2 separate regions of the Homo sapiens genome follow, and region 1 is linked to region 2. The links are contacts of gene promoters, found by promoter capture Hi-C in human tissues and cell types (Jung and others, 2019). All regions are on one chromosome and are shown on one strand. The core of a region is centred on a gene start or on the middle of the fragment in contact, and the rest is flanking DNA. Distances in the headings are between cores, read along the strand shown.

What was found. The method cuts DNA at HindIII sites, captures the fragments that hold promoters and counts their contacts. A contact is called where the count stands out against the background at its distance.
Region 1: a contact is called between a fragment that was not itself captured here and the fragment with the promoter of PPP1R2 in region 2, in 1 of the 25 tissues and cell types used here (spleen).

The regions. Positions count from the first base shown.
Region 1 is chr3:195,232,090-195,239,071 of GRCh38, reverse strand. The region is part of intron 1 of XXYLT1 (xyloside xylosyltransferase 1); the gene reads left to right. Among named protein-coding and RNA genes, the nearest start is that of XXYLT1, 36 kb to the left of the region's middle. The HindIII fragment of the contact is 4,702 bases long and covers 2,052-6,753 here.
Region 2 is chr3:195,539,571-195,546,114 of GRCh38, reverse strand. It overlaps PPP1R2 (protein phosphatase 1 regulatory inhibitor subunit 2), which reads left to right and starts at 2,790. Exons shown (of 6, transcript NM_006241.8): 1 at 2,790-3,211. The coding sequence starts at 3,090. RefSeq lists enhancers at 1-72, 5,712-5,821 and a silencer at 2,579-2,818. The HindIII fragment of the contact is 14,684 bases long and covers 1-5,514 here.

The DNA of each region.
Region 1 (6,982 bases), core at 3,153-5,652, 310 kb after region 2:
GTACTGAGTACAGTTTGTCCTCAGAAGTCTATTCATGCTGATGGGATGCAGTTGTCTCCTGTGAAGCTTTGGGGTGAGATGGGGCCAGTAGGGAGTGAGCTGGCTGAGGATAGCTCTTCATCTCCCTTAGTTTGGCTGCAGCAGCCCTGCTCTGCGTGTATGCCTGCGCAGATCCGTTCTTTCTCTTCCTGCTTAGTGAACACAGAGGCCTTCCCTTCTGCGAGAACCCTCTTGTCAGCTTCCAGCTTCCTGTGTAATTCGAACGGATAGGGATGATTTGGAGGGAGGGAAAAGCTGGCTTAGGAGTGAAAACTGATCTGTGGGGAGAAGGCATTTCGGGGACTGGGAGGAGGTTTGGTGCTAACACTTAGGAGTAAGCACAGTGTGGCAACCCCCGGGCTCAATGTGTGTTCCACATGGCCCTGACAGACACCACAGGAAGCATGTGGTGACAGTCCTGTATTACCCACGAAGAAACTGGGGCTCAGAGAGGTTTAGTTACTTGCCCAAAGTGCAGTTCACTTAGTTTAGCAAACCTGTATGGATGTATGGGTGGCCTGTCATGTGGCCAGTGGCTGGATACAGGGCACAGAGCAGTCACGGCCTCTGCCTACGAGGAGTGCCCCATGCAGCCGATAGAGAAACAGAGCCCTGAAAAGTGAGTCAGACAGGGTGAGTGGAGCCCCCATGCGATGCAGGGTGTTAGGAAGGGCCTGGTGAATTGTGGGAGGCTGTGGGAAGGCTGGAGGGGAGGATTGGAAAACTGGATAGGATCTTACCAGGCAGATGGGGGCTGGGAGAGGTAATTACAGACGGTGGGAAGAGCAAGTACAGGCATGCAAGGATGTAGGTCATCCAGGTGTGGCCAGTAGACGGGAGACTGCCTGGTTCAGTGCTGCCCAGTCACACGAGGCGGGGAGGTCGGGGGACGGGGCCAGAACCACTATTGCAGCGGCTTAGAGGCCTTGCTAGAGGATTCGGACTGTAACTAAGGGAGCGACGAGTCGTCGGAGGTCTTGAAGCCAGGGAGAGAGAAAAACGAATTTCTCTATTTGGAAAACAATTCTGGAGGTATAACAGAATGGGGCAGTGGGGAAGGTAGGAGGTAGGGAAACCTGTCAGAGAGGTCGCAGGGGCAGGGGTGAGAGGAAGCGGAGGGGTGTGGGAATGAGAAACATAATTTGAGATTTCTGTTGGAAAATAGCAGGAACTGGTCTGGATTCTGTGTCTGGAAAAAAGTATTAAAAACAAACAAACAACAAACAAACCAGTAGCCAGAAAAGGATAAAGGAAACGGTACCTTAGAAGAGAAGCATGAAGACATTTTTAAAAAGGCTTTTATAATGAGGCAGAAGATTTAAAGTGTTACATAAAACAAGTTTTAGGGAATGAGGAGGACCAATGTGGCATAAAAGGTTTTTATGGTTAGGCTGGAGGTGGAGCAAGGTGGCCAAACAGAAGCCTCCACCAACCATCCTCCTCACAAGAACACCAAATTTGACAACGATCTACACCAAAAAAGCACCTTCGTGGGCACTAAAAATCAGGTGAGCGATCACAGTACCTGGTTTTAACTTCATATTACCGAAAGAAGCACTGCAGAGGGTAGGAAAGACAGTCTTGATCACTGACTCCATCCCTGTGGCGGTGGCCACATGGTGCTCAGAGAGAACCTGTGTGACGGGGAAAGGAGAGTGCAGCAGTTGTGGGACTTTGCATTGGAACTCATTGCTGCCAGCAGTGGGTAGAACTCAGCCGATGCCCACGGAGGGAGCATTTAGACCAGCCTAGACAGAGGAGAATCACCCATCTCAGCAGTCAGAACTTGAGTTCCAGCAAGCCTTGTTACCATAGGTTAAAGTGTTCTGGGTTCTAAATAAACCAGGCCACAAGGACTGCAACACCCAGGTGAGTCCTAGTGCTGTGCTGGGCTCAGAGCCAGTGGACTTGGGGGTTACATGACCTAATGAGACACCAGCCAGGGTGGCTCAGGGAGCACTTGCATCCCCTATCCCCCAAACCCAGGCAGCGCAGCTCACAGCTCCAAAAGAGACCCCCTCCTTCTGTTAGAGGAGAGGAGAGTAAAGAGGACTTTGTCATGCAACTTGGGTACCAGCTCAGTCACGGTAGGATAAGGCACCAGGCAGAGTCATGAGGCCCCCATTCCATGCCCTAGATCTTAGATGACATTTCTAGACACCCTGGGCCAGAAGGGAGCCTACTGCCCTGAAGGGAAGGACCCAGTAATGGCAGGAATCATCACCTGCTGACGAAAGAGCCCCTGGACCCTGAATAATCAGCAGTGGTAACCAGGTAGTACATACCATGGGCCTTGGGTGAGACTCTGAGACCTGCTGGCTTCAGATGGGATCCAGCACATTCACAGCTGTGGTGGTTAACGAGGAGAGACTCCTTCTGCTTGAGTAAAGGAGAGGGAAGAATAAAGGGGACTGTGTCTCGCAGCTTAGATACCAGCTCAGACATAGGGGGAGCACCAACTGGGCCCTTGGGGTCCCCAGTTCCAGGCCTTGGCTCTGGGATAGCATTTCTGGACCTACCCCAGGCCAGAGGGGAGCTCACTGCCCTGAAGAGAGTCCCAGGACTGGCAGCATTCACCACAAGCTGACTAAAGAGTCCTTGGGCATTAAGTGAACATTGGTGGCGCTCTGGCAGCACTCCCCATGGGCCTGTGGTGGTACTGGACACAGGGAGAGAGTCCTCTGCCTGGAGAAAGAGGAGGGAAGAGTGGGAAGGACTTTATCTTGTGGTTTTGTTGCCAGCTTAACCGCAGTAGAATAGAGCACCAGGCAGATTTCTAGGGCTTCCGATTGCAGGCCCTGGCTCACAGATAGCATCTCTGGACCTGCCTGGGGCCCAAGAGAACTCACTGCCCTTAAGGGAAGGACACAAGCCTGGCAGTCTTTGCCACCTGCTAATTGTAGGGCCCTAGGGCCTTGATTGAACATAGAGAGTAGTCAGCTAGTGGTTATAGCAGGCCTCGGGCAAAACTCAGTGGTGTGCTGGCTTCAGATCTGACCAAGTGCAGTCCCAGTGGTGATAGTGACAGGGGTGTCACCCCTCCCCAATCTCCAGGCAGCCCAGCCAGGTGTATATCTCTATGTCTATGTCTATGTCTATGTCTATGTCTATGTCTATGTCTATGTCTATGTCTATGTCTATATATTTATAGATATATAGAGAGATTGCATTCATCTGGGAGATAGGGAAGAGAACAAGTAATTCGGAGAATTCTTCCAGATGTGATCTAAGACCATCAAGGTGGTGCATCTACAAATCTGCAAGAACCACGGCATTGCTGGGCTTGGTATGCCCCCTAATGCAGATACAGCTGCAGTGACCAAAAACTTAGATCACAACACCCACGTCCTTTGAATACCTGGAAAGCCTCCCCAAGAAGGATGAGTACAAACAAACCCAGACTGCAAAGACTACAATAAATACCTAACTCTTCAATGGCCAGACACCTACAAACATCCACTAGCATCAAGACCATCCAGGAAAATAGGACCTCACCAAGTGAACTAAATAAGGCACCAGGGGCCAGTCTTGGAGAAACAGAGATATGTGATCTTTCAAACAGAGAATTGAAAATAGCTGTTTTGAGGAAACTCAAAGAAATTCAAGATAGCACAGAGAAGGAATTCAGAATCCTATCAGATAAATTTAACAAACAAATTGAAATAATTAAAAACAGTCAAGCAGAAATTCTGGAGCTGAAAAATGCAATTGACTTACTGAAGAATGCATCAGAATCTCCTAATAGTAGAATTAATCAAGTAGAAGAATGAAATAGTAAACTTTAAGAGGCTATGTGAAAATACACAGTTAGAGCTGGGAGGATGGCTTGAGCCTGGGAGGCAGAGGTTGCAGTGAGGCAAGATTGCCCCACTGCACTCCAGCCTGGATGACAGAGCCAGACCCTGTCTCAAAAAAAGAAAGCAAGAGAGCGAGAAAAGAAAGCAAGCAAGAAAGAACAGTCAGAGGAGACAAAAGAAAGAGTAAAAAAGAATGAAGCTTGCCTACGAGATCTGGAAAATTGCCTCAATGGGGCAAATCTAAGAGTTACTGGCTTTAAAGAGGAGGTAGAGAGAGAGACAGCAGTAGAAAGTTTATTTAAAGGGATAATAACAGAGAACTTCCCAAACCTAGAGAAAGATATAAATATTCAAGTACAGGAAGGTTATAGAACACCAAGCAGATTTAGCCCAAAGACGTCTACCTCAAGGCATTTAATAACAAACTCTCAAAAGTCAAGAATAAAGAAAGGATCCTAAAAGTAGCAAGATAAACAAATGACATAAAATAGAGCTCCAGTACGTCTGGCAGCAGACTTTTTGGTGAGAACCTTACAGGCCAGGAGAGAGTGGCATGACATACTTAAAGTGTTGAAGGGAAAAAACTTAAATAGCATATATGGCAAAAATATCCTTCAGGCTGGGTGCGGTGGCTCATGCCTGTAATCCGAGCACTTTGGGAGGCTGAGGCAGGTGGATCACTTGAGGTCAGGAGTTCAAGACCAGCCTGGCCAAGATGGTGAAACCCCGTCTTTACTAAAAATATAAAAATTAGCCAGGCATGGTGGCAGACGCCTGTAATCCCAGCTACTTGGGAGGCTGAGGCAGGACAATCGCTTTAATCTGGGAGGCAAGAGGTTGCAGTGAGCTGAGATTGTGCCACTGCACTCCAGCCTGGGCGACAGAGTGAGACTCTGTCTCAAAAAAAAAAAAAAAAAAAAAAAAAATCCTTCAAACATGAAGGAGAAATAAAGACTTACCCAGACAAACAAAAGCTTGATGGATTTCATCAATACCAGACCTATCGTACAAGAAATGCTGGCCAGACGCAGTGGCTCACGCCTGTAATCCCAGCACTTTGGGAGGCCGAGGCAGGCGGATCACAAGGTCAGGAGATCGAGACCATCCTGGCTAACATGGTGAAACCCCGTCTCTACTAAAAAAAAAAAAAAATTAGCTGGGCGTAGTGGCGGGCGTCTGTAGTCCCAGCCACTTGGGAGGCTGAGGCAGGAGAATGGCATGAACCTGGGAGGCGGAGCTTGCAGTGACCCGAGATCGCACCACTGCACTCCATGCTGGGTGACAGAGTGAGACTCCATCTCAAACAAAACAAAACAAAACAAAAATGCTAAAGGGATTTATTTAGTCTGAAATAAAAGGATGTTAATGAGCAATAAGAAATCATCTGCAGGTGAAAAGTTCACTGGTAATGGTGCAGAGAAAAACACAGACTGTTAAAACACTATAATTGCAATGTGTATATTTCTGATATCTTAAGTACAAAGATGAAAAGATAAACCAATCAAAAATAATAACTTTTCAAGACAGTACAGCAAGATGTAAATAGAAACAACAAAAAGTTAAAAAGTGGGGAGATGAAGTTATAGAGTTTTTATTAGTTTTCTTTTTGCTTGTTTTTTAGTATGTTTGTTTATGTAATCAGTGTTAATTTGTCATCAGTTTAAAATAATGTGTTATAAAATATTATTTGCAAATCTCATGGCAACCTCAAGTCTAAAAACATACAATGGATATGAAAAAGTAAAAAGCATGAAAATAAAACATAACACCAGAGAAAATCACCTTTACTAAAAGGGAAGACCAGAAAACAGCTAGAAAACAAATAACAAAATGGCAGGAGTAAGTCCTTACTTAATCAATAATAACATTGAATGTAAATGGAGTAAACTCTCCAATCAAAAGACAAAGAGTGAATGAATAGATTTTTTTTAAGACCCAATGATCTATTGCCTACAGGAAACACACTTCATTTATAAAAACACACATAGACTGAAAATAAAGGTATGGCAAAAGATATTTCATGCCAACGGAAACCAAAAAGGAGCAGAAGTAGCTATACTTATATCAGATAAATCGATTTCAAGAAAAAAATATAAAAAGAGACAAGTTTGTTGTATAATGATAAAGGGGTCAATTCAGCATAAGGATATAACAGTTATATATGCATCCAACACTAGTGCACTCAGATATATAAAGCAAATATTATCAGAGTGAAAGATGGAGATAGACCCCAATACAATGATAGCTGGAGACCTCAACACCCCACTTTCAGCATTGGACAGATCATCCAGACAGAAAATCAACAAAGAAACATCAGACTTAATCTGCACCATAGACGAAATGGACCTAATAGATACTTACAGAACATTTCATTCCATAGTTGCAGAATACACATTCTTCTGCTCAGCACATGGATCATTCTCAAGGATAGACCATATGCTAGGTTGCAAAACAAATCTTAAAACATTCCAAAAAACTGAAATAATATCAAGTATCTTCTCTGACTACAATGGAATAAAACTAGAAATTAATAACAGGAATTTTGGAAACTATACAAACACATGGAAACTGAACAATATGCCTCTGAATGACCAGTTGGTCAATGAAGAGGTTAAGAAAGAAATTGAAAAATTTCTTGAAACAAATGATAATAGAAACACAACATACCAAAACCTATGAAATACAGCAAAGCAGTACTAAGAGAAGTTTATGGCTATAAATGCCTACATCAAAAAAGAAGAAAAAGTTCAAATAAACCACCTAATGATGCGTCTTAGAACTAGAAAAGCAACAGCAAACCAAACCCAAAGTTAGTGGAAGAAAAGAAGTAATAAAAATTAGAGCAGAAATACATGAAATTGAAACAGAGTAAACAATACAAAAGATCAATGAAATGAAAAGTTTTTTTTTGGTATTTTGAAAAGATAAAATTGACAAACCTTTAGCCAGACTAAGAAAAAAAAGAGAGAAGACCCAAATAAATAAAATCAGAGATGAAAAAGGAGATATTACAACTCATACTGCATAAATTCAAAGGATCATTAGTGGCTACTGTGAACAACTATATACCAATAAATTGGAAAACCTAGAAGAAATGGATAAGTTTCTAGACACATACAACCTACTAAGATAGAATCATGAAGAAA
Region 2 (6,544 bases), core at 1,541-4,040:
AAAAGAGAGCAGAGATAAATGCCAGATTATCCTTAAATCATGTATATATCTTTAAATATATGATTTGCCTTGAGCTCAATAGCTACTTCCAGAAACTGAAACCAGAATGAAAGATTCTATCTACAATTCACCTCCTGGCAGCCAAACCCTCAACACACAGGAAATGTAACAGCAATACAGCTAAATTCAGTGCTCGGGCTGTTTGGTCCAGATAACTTCCTACAGGAGCAAACCTCAGCAGAGGCACAGAAGGAGAGCTCTGTTTAGAGGCATTTGAAAATCTTATTTGGGCCACACTGAGGAATAAAGTAGTTCAACTATTCTGAAAGATAAGGAAAAGCAGGCCATGTGTGGTGGCTCATGCCTATAATCCCAGCACTTTGGGAGGCTGAGGCGGGCAGATCACCTGAGGTCAGAAGTTTGAGACAAGCCTGGCCAACATGATGAAACCCCATCTCTACTAAAAATACAAAAATTAGCTGGGTGTGGTGGCAGGCACCTGTAGTCCCAGCTACTCGGGAGGCTGAGGCAGGAGAATCACTTGAACCCAGGAGGCAGAGGTTGCAGTGAGTGGAGATTGTGCCATTGCATTCCAGCCTGGGCGACAGAGCAAGACTTTGTCTCAAAAAAAAAAAAAAAAAAAGCAGTACTGGCCCTCACAATTTTACAAACTATTTTTTTTTAAGTGCTACCAAAGTCATCTTCATCTGCATTCATTTGTTGTGGGTTTGGGAGTGGAAGAACCAGTACAGGAGACAAAAGTTTAACTCTTGATGAGGGAAATATGTTTCCAAGGTTCTTCAGAGAACTCTTCATCACCTCCTGTTCCAATGTTTGTTAGTTAATTAACTAATAAAACACTTTATGTCATACGATCGTAGTCCCTTTCATTAGAGGGTCTGAAAGCAAGCTGTTGCTTAATCAAGGGCCCAGTCACAGTTGAGTTCAGGGATGCTGAACTCAGTGATGCTTCCCAGCCCAAGCAGGAACAAAGCAAATCTGCCCAATAATTTGGAACATACAGGGAAGTTTGTGTATTCCCTTGAAAACAGGATTGCCATCACTGACCTAGACTCCTGCTGACAGGGCAGGAGACGCAACACAGGTGTTGAACACTGGGGTGGAAAGAACTCAGGAAGGGAAGGGAGGTGGCCATCCTGCTTCCCCTCGCTGAGAACCCTCTCTCTCTGCTCCATGGGCTGGACAGGGCTGTCAGGGTGTAATGTTAGATCCACTGAGCAGTCCTGGCCTGGGAGGGAGAGACGGCACCAGTGGATATTTGACTGGGAACAAAGGTGGGGACAGTGCCAACAGTGACTGTGCAGGCCCCTGGCTGAGGCAAATCCCTGGGGAACACATTCCACTCTGTGACCAGCAACCCTGTTTCCCTTCTCCCCTTCCAGCTCACTTCCCCTCCATTATCTCCATCCACATCCATTCCCATACTGAGGCCCTGTTCTGTGCCAGGAACTCATCTAGGAGCTAGGGGCTCGGGGCCAGACGATAAAAACAATCGTTTTCAGAACCCTACAGTCATCCCTGAGGGGCAGAGTCCTAAGGACACAGAACAGGGTCATCCTCAAAAGGCACAGAGCCTGTGTTAAAGAAGATGAGACTGTGGTCCAGAGATGAGCCATGGGAGTGAAACTGCTGCTATAGGGGCTAGATAGGGGAAAACGCTTCCTCTCACCCCCCACAGCAGTGGACAGACATTGCTGGGAGCGAGGTGTCAGCTCAATCTAAGAACTCCCAGAGTCAGAGCTGTCCAAAAACAAAATGAGTTACACGGGGGTGTGGCGGGCTTCTAGCCCCTGGGGTTGTTGGAGAAACAGGCTGAATAGCCACCTTATGGGCCTGCTTGACAAGGTCCCTTCCAGGACCAGTGGTCTGTGAATCCGCAGGGGCTGGTCCACCGGAGGGGCCAGTTCTGGGTGGCTCAGTCTGCTGTGCTCTAACCTGTGGTGAGGACGATAAAAAGGCCTGATCAAGAAAGAGTCATGGAAAAGAGCCTGGTGATGAGCGAGCTGCGGACTGGACTTGGGAGAGGGAGGGAAGGGAGTGTACAGGGACCATAACAAATACCACACACGAGGTGGCTTTAAGCAATGGAAATGGGCTCTCCGTTCTGCAGGCTTGAAGTCCACATCAACCTGCGGCAGAGTTGGTTCCCTCTGTGGGGGGAACCTGTCGCGGCCTCTGCGGGCCCAGGAGGTCCTTGGCTGGGAGATGTGTCCCTGCCGCCCTCCCGTCTCCTGCGCTCTCTGCCTAGACGGGTTGTGCGACGGCGGGGGTCGCTGCCCGTCTGTCCGTCGGCTTCTCCAGCGGTAAAAGGAGGTGAGGCGATTCCAATGCAGACATTCTATGATTTCATAATAGGCCTCTAAGGACCACTCCAATGCTGGCAGTCCATGCTTTTATAATAGGCAGTTCGGCTGTTTACACGGGCGAAATGGAAAGAGGAGATACCCGTTTTCTTCAAGTCAGCTAACCTCTCTGCGGAGTGACGTCACCTCGAGTCTCAGTCTGCTGATCTAAAAAATAAAAATAACACTACGGCCTCACAAGGTGGTGGGACGAGGGTGCTCGAGAGACGCGCGGGTCCGGGAAGCAGCAAGCCCGGGCGCTCTCCCGCAGGTTCTCAGAGACAGCTCCCGCCTCCCAGCGCCGCGCGGGGGCGGGGCGAGCAGCCCGGGCGGGACGGAGGGGGCGGGGCGAGGAGGTCGGCTTTGTTCTCGCCCCGCCCTCTCCCCGCCTCCTCCCTAGATATCGCGAGAGGGCGGGTCCGCTTGGCTTCGGCGTCGCGTCGCTCCTGCGCTGGAGCTCTAGGCCGGCGTCTCTCCGCGAGCCGCGGGTCAAGTGCCAGTGGCTAAGGGTGCGCGAGTAGCCGCCACCCGTTCGGCGTTGGCTCTGGCGTCGGGGTCGTTGTGTCGTGACAACCGCTGCGGTAGCCGTTTCCGAGGCAGCAGTTGCGGCCGCTTTAGCCCTGAGCGGGATCTGCGGCTGCCTGCGAGTCTCTGCTGTGCCGACCCTTCTCTTCGCGGACCCCACGCCAAGCAGCGACCCTGAGCCGACAGCCGGAGCGCCCGGCAATGGCGGCCTCGACGGCCTCGCACCGGCCCATCAAGGGGATCTTGAAGAACAAGACCTCTACGACTTCCTCTATGGTGGCGTCGGCCGAACAGCCCCGCGGGAATGTCGACGAGGAGCTGAGGTGAGCGCTGGGAGGGACGGCCTGGGAGCCCCTCCTTCCCGCCGGGCCCGTTACCTACCCAGACCCCAGGGGCGGGCGGGCGGCGTGGATGCGGCTCGGGTGCCGCTCGAGTCTCTTCTCCTGCCCGGCTAGCCGCGGGTGGGAGCGATCTTTAAGAAGGCTGGGCGATGACGTTTATCATGCTTCCTTTTTTTTTTTTAAGCATTTGGGCATATATAATATTTTTAAACATCATCTTTGAACTTTCTGTAATCGGGAACATCAAAGAATGAAATTGAAGCTTCAGATCTTCGACTGTTAAGCTTTTACTATTTCTTAACCTCATCTCTGAGGTATCTAAAATTCTTCGATAATTACAGTGTATTTTCTTGCTTTGGGAACCCTTTAAGATCTAGTCTCAAGCTAATAGGCGATCCGTCAAAGAAGAGACCATTTCCCCCATTAGCATTGTGCCACACTGTATTTCTGCATCTGCAACCAGAGTTTTGGGTGCTTTCTAGTTTTTGTTCCTGTTCAGAGATAGATCTAAGCTCAAAACAGTTCAAAGAGGAGCAACTTGAAATGACCCAGTGGTAATTTAGTTGCTCTTGCATACGCTAAAGATACACATGTAAAAAGTTGTTGACCTGAGCATTGTATGTAATATTTATAATATAATTGGAAACGACCGGAAGTCCATTAGTAAGAGCTGGTGAAATATTAATTACGGTACGTTTGTATAATGGAACAATATACTAGCCTTTAAAAAAAGAAAGGTAGGCGTTTATGCACGGAGAAAATGTTGCAGTACAGTATCTGTAGTGGGTTAGAAGTGCACGGGGGCTTGGGCGTTGCAAGATACTAAAAATAGAAGGACTCTACTTTCTGAAAATAAGGCTTAAGAAAAGTTACCATTGAAATTGGTAGTCAGAAGCTAAAATGAGGATGTTTGTGAAATCTCAGAATATAGGAACCTAGGGCATTCCTGGATAAAGGATCTTATTTAGGACCATAAAAGGAACTACTGCTTGGTGGTGGTAAATTTTAGGGATTTGTGTTACCTTGAAGGAAATATTGAGTAGGTTCATAGGTTAGAATCGTGGCCTTTTGGGGCTGGAAAGGACCTTAGTTTTTGTCTAGCAACTCCCACGCTCATGGATGCTTGAATCTTACATTCTCTCACACACAATTTTCCAACTTCTTTGGGCTAAGCCACGTTAAATGGAGTGCTGGGGGAGTGTGATGTGTAGGTCATGGAATTAAGAAGACAGAATTTCACCAGAACATAACTGAAGCAGGAGAACCAAGTTAGTTAAAAGATAAATAACATCCAGGCGTGGTGGCTCACGCCTGTAATCTCAGCACTTGGAGAGGCCAAGGTGGGAGGATTGCTTGATCCCAGGAGTTTGAGACCAGCCTGGGCAACATAATGAGACCTCATCTCTTAAAAAAAAAAAAAAAAAAAAAAAGGAAAGAAAAGAAAAGGAATTAAAAGATAAGTAACGTAACTACAGAAGGCTCAAATGTAGCTTCAGGGTTTTCAGCAGCAGGAATGTGGTCCTTACTGGCATTTATGTTATTTAGCTGTTCTCCAGTGTGAGTTTCTTTTGGTCCATTTACCAAGTGAGTTACTCTTTATCTCTGCTTCTTTAGTTTCTGTTTATTCTTAACTTGGATCTGCTGTAATTTCCCGTGGGCCCAATCTATGGATTGGCCTCTTTCTTTCTGTAATTGGTTGGGATTTACATTCAGGTCTTTCTGCCTCAAAAGCCACTATACTAGACTGACTCAACTGCATAGGGCTGCCTCTTCTGTAGTATCTGTGGCAGGGTAGATTCACTTAAAAGGGACTGACCTGTCGAGTTAGAGTTACAGTCCTGTCTTTAAAGAGAACTATCAAACCCTAATTCATTGAAGTTCATGATGTTTGGTTCCAAGTGGTAAAAAGGATGGGTTTTTTAATGATCCTTGTTATGTGACTGTAAAGCAAATAAACTAATTCTACTAGTAATACAATATAGTCTTAGTCTGTTTTCTGTTGGTCATAACAGAATGTCTGAAATGATAATTTATAAGAAACTGAATTTATTTCTTACGGTTCTGGAGGCTTGGAAGTCCAGGGTCTTAAGGGTGCATCTGGTGAGAGCGTTTTTGCTGGTGGGGACTCTGTGGAGTTCCAAGGTGGTGCAGGGCATCACATGGCAAGGAAGCTGAGCGTGCCAGCTCAGGTCTCTCTTCCTCTTCTTATAAAGCCACCAGAACCACTCACTTGATAACCCATTAATCCGTGAATAGATTAATCCATTCATCAGAGCAGAGCCCTCATGACCCAGTCACCTTTTAAAAGCTGTGCCTCTCCACACTGCCACATTGGAGATCAAGTTTCAACGTGAGTTTCAGAGAGGACAAACGTTCAAACCATACCAAATATACATTATTATTTGTCACAAGTCATGCAAACTTTATGAGATCCTCTTTGAACAGAAACAATAAATATACAGTTGGCCCCCTCCACAAATTCAGCCAATACCAAATAGCCCTTTACACTTGGGAGCCATTTTACACACCAGATTCACCAACAAAAATGCAGGAAAGGACCCTAAATAGGCCACGAAAAGGACACTTGTTTACAGTACAAGAGCTGAAACAAGAAAGCAGAGCGTCGCCTTGTTTGACCCCATCTGGGAACATGCTACCTCGGCTGTGAACGGTGCACTGGGCAACTCAGAATCTGCCCTGCTCTGTGGCTGTCTGTGAGCAACTGCTAACGGACCTCAAATGCTAGTTTTGGGATTACACATTTTAGCAAGTAGGTAAACTTGCAAAGAAAGAATCAGAGAATAATGAGAATGAACCCTACCTTTTATAGGTGTCTTCGTTGTGTAAAATGCGATGATAGTTTGACTCCTACCCATCCCCCAGTTGTGAGAGGATGTTATTTTACGTAAATATTACCAAGGAATTTTTAAAAATAGAATTCAAACATACTTCAGATATATGTCTGTAATTCATATATGGATGTACTACTATCATTAGATAATTCTCAAAACTCAATGTCCACTTAAAGTGAGGTTTATATAAAGCCATATTCAGATAGTCTAGCATTTCTATTTTTTTATCCAATTGTCAGGACCGATCAAACCATCATTGAGGGGGGTTTTATTTTTTTAGATGACTCAGTGCTGTTATTTTCTTATTGTTTATACTTTGCATTAGTGCTTACGTCTTTTTTTGTTTATTTTTGAGACAAGATCTCATTCTGCCACCTGGGCTGGAGTACGGTGGCACGATCACAGCGCACTGCAGCCTCCATCTCCTGCTCTCAAATGATTGTCCCACCTCAGGCCACCACAC